Regions from separate parts of the Homo sapiens genome. Here region 2 is linked to region 1. The links are contacts of gene promoters, found by promoter capture Hi-C in human tissues and cell types (Jung and others, 2019). All regions are on one chromosome and are shown on one strand. The core of a region is centred on a gene start or on the middle of the fragment in contact, and the rest is flanking DNA. Distances in the headings are between cores, read along the strand shown. Region 1 holds the start of SLBP (stem-loop histone mRNA binding protein). Region 2 holds the start of HTT (huntingtin).

The links. The method cuts DNA at HindIII sites, captures the fragments that hold promoters and counts their contacts. A contact is called where the count stands out against the background at its distance.
Region 2: the fragment with the promoter of HTT here is called in contact with the fragment with the promoter of SLBP in region 1 in 1 of the 25 tissues and cell types used here (lymphoblastoid cells).

What each region holds. Positions count from the first base shown.
Region 1 is chr4:1,710,209-1,713,910 of GRCh38, reverse strand. SLBP (stem-loop histone mRNA binding protein) reads left to right here and starts at 1,592. Exons shown (of 8, transcript NM_006527.4): 1 at 1,592-1,781; 2 at 1,921-2,037. The coding sequence starts at 1,723. RefSeq lists an enhancer at 756-1,045 and silencers at 1,176-2,085, 2,096-2,215. The HindIII fragment of the contact is 8,102 bases long and covers 364-3,702 here.
Region 2 is chr4:3,072,646-3,076,347 of GRCh38, reverse strand. It overlaps HTT (huntingtin), which reads right to left and starts at 1,667. Exons shown (of 67, transcript NM_001388492.1): 1 at 1,260-1,667. The coding sequence starts at 1,522. It also overlaps HTT-AS. RefSeq lists enhancers at 772-821, 832-1,061 and silencers at 1,222-1,291, 1,402-1,841, 1,992-2,611. The HindIII fragment of the contact is 13,196 bases long and covers 1-3,702 here.

The DNA.
Region 1 (3,702 bases), core at 343-2,842:
GGCTTAGGATTTTAATTTTTTTTGAGACAGAGTTCTGCTCTTGTTGCCCAGGTTGGAGTACAGTGGTGCAATCTTAGCCCACTGCCTCCCGGGTTCAAACAATTCTCCTGCCTCAGCCACCCGAGTAGCTGGGATTACAAGCATGCGTCACCATGCCAGGCTAATTTTGTATTTTTAGTAGAGACAGGGTTTCTCCATGTTGGTCAGGCTAGTCTCGAACTCCCAACCTCAGATGATCCTCCCGCCTCGGCCTCCCAAAGTGTTGGAATTACAGGCATGAGCCACCGCGCCCTGCCAGGATTTTATTTTTAGTTTACAGTGTTGAGGGTTATGGGATGCCCAGGGCCTGGGGAGGAAGGGGACAGGATGTGTCCGTCCTAGTCTGAGGATGACTTTTTTGAGTTCAAAAGGGGGCGGTGGACGCACCAAGGCACAGTCCTGAGGGCAGCAGGTGCAAAAGTCCGGCCCTCCCAGAGGTGTAAGGCCTTAGAGGGATCCCAAGCATCCCTGGGGCTCAGCCTCCTGGACCTGACCCCACTGCCCACTCTTTTGGCTGGTTCCACTCTCCCCTGCATCCCTCACGTTGTCCCCAACAGGAAGCTGTGGGAACCTGTTCTCAGGTGTAGTGCACCCGTTGGGGTTCTAGTTGGCTGGATCCGCGGGGCCGTCAGCTGCAACTGTGACGGCGGGGAAGCGGGACGGGATGGTGCGGATCTACAGGACCTCGCCTCCAGGTGGAACCTACCTGCTGAGCCAGGGATTCTTCAGGATACAAACCCAGTCAACTCCAGGCAGAGGGTGGGAGCGTCATGCACCGGCGACACAGTGGAGGACGTCATGGACGGGCAGGGAGGCAGCGGCAACCGAAACTAGCGGCTCAGTCGGTGGCCGGTGTGCGGTCAACGGCCAGGGCAGTGGGACCGGAAAGACTCAGTGTAGTTGTCAACTGTTGCGACCTAAAAGGTTACTCCAAAACTTTAAGCGGCTCAAAACAATAGACGGCGCGTACGGGGCCTGCAGCGGCCACGGGACCGTGGGAAGCAGTCAGTACCCGCCACAGGCCGCGCCTTCCGGGTTCCGGGTTCCGGGTTCCCGCCAGGGAGGAGACACGCCCCCACCTGGGCAGGAACCAAGCAGAGCCGCGCTCCACCCAGGCCGGAACCAATGGGAGATGCGCCACGACCCAGGCCGAGAAACGTGCCGCTTACCCTTCCCCCACGACCTGCGCCGCGTCGCGCGCGGCCGAATCTCCCGCCAAAGCTGCCCCCGCCCGCCAAGGCGCGACCTATCAGCGTCGCAGAGGCCCGCGGCGGCCCGGCCGCCTCAATCCCGCGGGTGGGGGCAACCTTTTCCTCAGGCCTCTCCTCAGCCCACGGCGTCCATCTGGCTCCCGAGCCGAGGGCCGGGCAGTCGGGCTTCGCGGCTGCCCGCGGTCCCGAGGCCTCGCCCTAGCCCCAGTCGGCTCGCGAGGCGCGCACAGCTGAGTGGACCCCTGCGGCGTGGCCCGATGGTCTCGCCCGACCCGGCGCGCGCGGGAGGCCGAGGGGCGGGGCCCGGCGCCCACATAAAGGCGGTTGGGGGCGGGGCGCGCAGAGCTCGTGAGCGCCGGCGCGGGGACGCGGGTTTCTGCCTCAGGCCCTGCCCTGCTCTACTCTGCGCTCTCTGCCCGCGCCGCCGCCGCCTCAGCCTCGGCCCTGCGCTGCGCGCCCGGCCCGTGCTGCCATGGCCTGCCGCCCGCGAAGCCCGCCGAGGCATCAGAGCCGCTGCGACGGTGACGCCAGGTGAGGCCGGGCTGCGCGGCGGGCGAGGGAGCGCGTGCCCCGTGGGGCGGGGGTTGTGCGGGGCCGGGGTGTGGGAGGGCGGAGGTTGTAAGGCGGTCCCGAACCTCCCGTGCCCAGCCGACCGCGTCCCTCCCCGCAGCCCGCCGTCCCCCGCGCGATGGAGCCTGGGACGGAAGCGCAGAGCCGACGGCAGGCGCTGGAGGCCCGAAGACGCCGAGGAGGCAGAGCACCGCGGCGCCGAGCGCAGACCCGAGAGGTGGGCGCGGGACCCGGGGGTCGGGGCGCGGTGGGGCCCTTGACGAGGCCGCGGGCTCCAGGGACCTCGTCGCGCTCTCGCGGTGCCGGGATCGGTCAGGTCGGCACCCTGCGTCCTTTTATCTTGGTCTCCGCGCGGCCCGTGGACTGGGGCGGCCGCAGCAGGCCTGGGAGGCGCTGGAACACTCCGGAAGCCTCTTGCCAGGATGGGAGTCAGCTGAACCGGCGTCAGCCCGAGTTAGCCAGTTCGAGTCTGTGTTGTGCTCCCGGGAGAGGTCAGGGTCTCTGACGAGCTTCTCGTGAACACGTGGAAGTCAGGGACACCCGAGTCCCGAGGAGAAGTGAGTTGACAGGGCTTACCTGCTTGGCCATTTTCTGGGTTAGGCAGTGTGCAGGGAGGGTGGAGATGCGAGCGAAAGGAGGGCTTGATGGGGTGGGACGGCCGAGGAGGGTCTGGAGGAAATAAGCAGGGGTGCCAGTGGTCGTAGTGGCGGGGCTTTTCGGGGCTGTGGTTAGAGAAAACTTCTCGAGGGGCTTTGGGGTGGCTCGTCCCGCACTGGGGGCTTGTTGCTCCTGAGTTCCCTGAAAGGCGTGGTGACTTGGCCGAGATGGAGCAGTGAAGGTGGAGGGAAATGCGTGGTTCGGGATAGGCTTCTGAAGGCAGGACCTGTGAGACTTGCTGATGGGTTGGGGATGGGAGGCGTGAAAGGAAAAAAAAAAATCGGACCCAACTTCACTGTGCCAAAAGGAAAAAATTATGCTGAGCGCGGAATCATGCAAGAAACTACCTTTGCGTTACTTTTTTTTTTTTTTTTTTTTTTTTAAAGACAGGGTCTCACTCTGTCTCACAGGCTGGAGTGCGGTGACGCGATCTTGGCTCACTGCAGCCTCCCCCTCCCGGGTTCAAGTGATTCTCCTGCCTCAGCCTCCCCAGCAGCTAGGATTACAGGCGCATGCCACCGCGCCCGGCTAACTTTTTGTATTTGTAGTAGAGACAGGGTTTCACCATGTTGACCAGACTGGTGTCGAACTCCTGACCTCAAGTGATCCACCCACCTTGGCCACCCAAAGTGCTGGGATTACAGGTGTGAGCCACCGCGCCCGGCCACCTTTGTGTTTCTTTTTTTTTTTCTAAGCAGATACCTACAGATACAAGATTAAATATCTCCACGGGTGAACTCTGTTCACTTTAAGTGGCGACTTACTGAGCACACTAGGAATACATAATTGACTATTCCCCTACCTGCTCCTTTTCTCTTGGAACATGTAGATCTTTCTCCTTCAACCTACTTTTCTCTTTTAAATATTGAAGCCCTGACAGTCATCTCTGGAGAAAGGCACAGACCACAGACTCTTTCTGTAATTTCGTGTTCTTCTAGGTATGTCCTTAACATTAGCTAAATTCCTAAAGCAATTGAGACCTGTCTCAGACACTTTTTGGTTTACACAGGAAAGAGGCATCAAGAATGACTCAAGCCTTTAGGTCTGAACGCTGTTGATTGGGGCCATTTGCTAAGATAGAGAAGATGGGCTGGAGCAGCTAGGCATGGGAAGTTGTGAGGCTTGAGAAGCTGCTTAGAGAAGCAAAGGAGATGTCAAGAAAGGTAACGGAGTGTAGGAGTCTACATGGGAGGCATCTTCAGGCACAGTGAGTTACCAGGACATA
Region 2 (3,702 bases), core at 418-2,917, 1.4 Mb before region 1:
AATGCCATCTGGGACACATCCAGATCGGAAATAGAATACTGAGAGGTAAGAGAAAGGCCTGAACTGCACCAGAGTACTTCCTAACTCCTACTGTACACTCGACACACAGACTTCCAGGGAAAGTCCTGGGGTTCCGCTAGATGTTTTAATGGTCTCTCTTTTCCTGTTTCAAAAATTCTCCCCAAGAACAAGCAACAGAAACCCCTAGCTTCCAAAAAGTAACAAGCTGTCAGCAATGAAGCAAACAGAAACCCTTTCACTGGCACATCTGAGATGCCCACGGAGTCTGCGGACCCCCCGTATTCTGGCAAGCCTGACTGGAATACTGGTAAAATGTACACCTCATTCATCCCTCGGCAATTAACCTCCCCATCAGCAACGTGTTGGTTTTATTCCCAACACACATAGGCAAAAAACTTCAATCAACTCTTCCTAATATTTAAGATAATTTCATTAATCACCACGTAAGTTCACCACTTTACTTGGCAACCACAACTCATTCAAACGCCTGCAGACCAACTTAGGCTTAGATGAGCAGATCTCTTAGGTGGTGCTTAAAATCGTGTTACTACCACCGTGATCATGAACTAAATGAAATGTCCTGACAATGTAGGAAGAGCCTCAAATCTCAGGCTGTTTTAAGTGCCACTAGGAAAAGAAATCTCCCATTGGACGCGCCCTCACTCCCCGCCCCCCCCCTGCCCCGCCACTCCCGCCGAGGCGTCCTAAAAGCATTATGTCATCCACTGCCCCCACATCTCTCCAGCTCCAAACCCCGCCTCCTCTCGAAGTGTCCCGCGCCCCCAGCCCTCTTCCCTCTCAGACTAGAAGAGGGAAGTGGCACTGAGCAAATCTCGGCTCCTCCAAGTTCTCTTCACAACGCAGTTAAAAGAACCCCCGCCCTGGTTTCTCGCAAATAAAAAGAAACAAGTTCTCGCCCCAACTCTTCGCATCCTGCGAAGGGCGAGAGGGCTGAGGCCGTGACTCCCCTCGGTGAATTCAGGACAGGCCCCAACAAGGCTCTGCCTCCCCTCGCGAGAGGACAAGGGAAGACCCAAGTGAGGGAGCGGGGCTGAAGTGGGGGAAGGCCTCGCCCCAGGAGGGGGCGGGTGTCCCTCATGGGCTCTGGGTTGCTGGGTCACTCTGTCTCTGCGGGGCCGGGGGTTCGTGTCGCCGGCCCGCAGGCTGCAGGGTTACCGCCATCCCCGCCGTAGCCTGGGACCCGCCGGGACAGGGAGCTGCAGCGGGCCCAAACTCACGGTCGGTGCAGCGGCTCCTCAGCCACAGCCGGGCCGGGTGGCGGCGGGGGCGGCGGCGGGGGCGGCTGCGGCTGAGGCAGCAGCGGCTGTGCCTGCGGCGGCGGCTGAGGAAGCTGAGGAGGCGGCGGCGGCGGCGGCGGCGGTGGCGGCTGTTGCTGCTGCTGCTGCTGCTGCTGCTGCTGCTGCTGCTGCTGCTGCTGCTGCTGCTGCTGGAAGGACTTGAGGGACTCGAAGGCCTTCATCAGCTTTTCCAGGGTCGCCATGGCGGTCTCCCGCCCGGCACGGCAGTCCCCGGAGGCCTCGGGCCGACTCGCGGCGCCGCTCAGCACCGGGGCAATGAATGGGGCTCTGGGCCGCAGGTAAAAGCAGAACCTGAGCGGCCGTCCATCTTGGACCCGTCCCGGCAGCCCCCACGGCGCCTTGCGTCCCAGACGCTGCGCCGGCGGAGGCGGGGCCGCGCCGGCGGAGGCGGGGCCACGCCGGCCAGCATGATTGACAGCCCTAGCCTGCGGACTCTGCCAATGGCTGGCCAGGGAACCAGCCCGCCCCTGCCCCCGCAGGTTCTGCCTCACACAGCAAGGCCGCTGACAGCGCAGCGCCCCACCCGGGCGAAGGCGCGGGGCTCAACGGAGAGGGGACGGGGCGTGGTGAGACTGTAATGGGGTGAGGCGAAGCTGTGTGTGAAGTGTCGCGGCGAGGCGGGACGAGGAAGGGACGGGGCGGGACTGCATGGTAAGGGAGGCGTGGCGATGCGGGGGGCGTGGCGATGCGGGGGGCGTGGTGAGGTAGGGGCGTGGCGAGGCCGGGGCGGGGCACAGCAGGGAGGCCGCCTGAGGGGCGGGGCGAGACGGGGGCGGGGCGGGGCGATGCTGGGGACGGGGACATTAGGCAGGCCGGCTGAGGGGCGGGGCGGCTGAGGGGCGGAGCGGGATAGGGGAGGGGACTGGCCGGTGAGGGGTGGGGAGGCTGGGGGCGGGGCAGGAAGGTGAGAGGTGGGGCGAGGGAGGGGTGGGGCGCGGAGGGGCAGGGCCATGGAGGGGCTCGCCCATGAAGGACGGGGCCATGGACGGGGCGGGGCCGTGGAGGGGGCGCCGAGCGCGGGCGCAGGCCCATGCGGAAAGGATCCCCCGCCGACGCCTGGAGCGGGGCGACAGCCGGCCGTGGACTCTGAGCCGAGGTGGCCTTGGGGTTTGCCCTCCCGCCACACTGGCCCGTGGCCAGAGCCATACTCACCCGGACAGCCCTGCGGGGAGCCAGCTGCGGGGCTCTCTGCACGGGGAGAGGGTGGGCGAGCTCCTGCGCAGAGCGCAGAGAATGCGCGTGGTCGGCACGACCTGAGGACCCCAAGTGTGACCCCCACCCCACCCCCAGTGAGCTGGAGAGGCCCCTGCAGGGCGGTGTCCACAGGCCTGGCGCCCCCCATCGGTCCCAGCGCAGCGCCCCGGAAGGGAGGAGAGGGTCTGGGGCAGGCCTGGGTGGTCAGCGCCTGCTGCCCACAGAGGCACTGTGATTAGTGCAGCGAGAAGCAGCTATGGCCACAAGATGCCGCCCACAGGAATGAGTCCCGACCTGGGGGCGTTTCTTTATGGGAGTGCACCCCTGCTCTGACCTTCCGGCAGGACCCCCAAGGGGCGTCATTCAGCAGCAGCTCAGCAGAGGTCTGTGGGGCACCCCCTCACGCCTGGGACACAGGCCGTGGCGGGCAGGGTCCTGGTCTCCAGAGCCTCCTGCCTTTTGGGTGGTAGAGGGGCAAACGGAGAGGGCAGCTGTCCAGCCTGCCCAGCAGGGAGTAAGGTTGGCCTCAGAGACAACCGCCCAGCCGGGGGGTGATGCAGGCAGAGAGGAGCCCAGTAAAGCCTACTTTAGCCAGGCCACACCTGCAACCCAGAGTCCCCTGCTCTGTGGCCACAAACAGCACCTCCGCCTTGTCTCAGAGCCTGTCCTAAAGGGAAACCCAGCATTGTCCCCAGTGGGGTAGCAGTAGCCTCCCTTTTCTTGAGAAGGACAGCAGAGAAACAGCTGTTAGTTCCCAGTTCTTGGGAGGCTGATGTGGGAGGATCACCTGAACCCAGGAATTTGAGGCTGCAAGTGAGCTAGGATTGCACCACTGCACTCCAGCTTGGGTGATAGAGCGACACTGTCTCTAAAAAAATTAAGTTCCAGCGAGGTGCGGTGGCTCACGCCTGTAATCCCAGCACTTTGGGAGGCCAAGGCAGGCAGATCACCAGAGGTCAGGAGTTCGAGACCAGCCTGGCCAACATGGCGAAACCCTGTCTCTACTAAAAATACAAAAATTAGCCGGGTGTAGTGGTGCATGCCTGTAGTCCCAGCTATTCCGGAGGCTGAGGCAGAATTGCTTGAACCTGGGAGGTGGAGGTTGCAGTGAGCCAAGATCATGCCATTGCACTCCAGCCTGGGTGACAAGAGTGAGACTCTGTCTCAA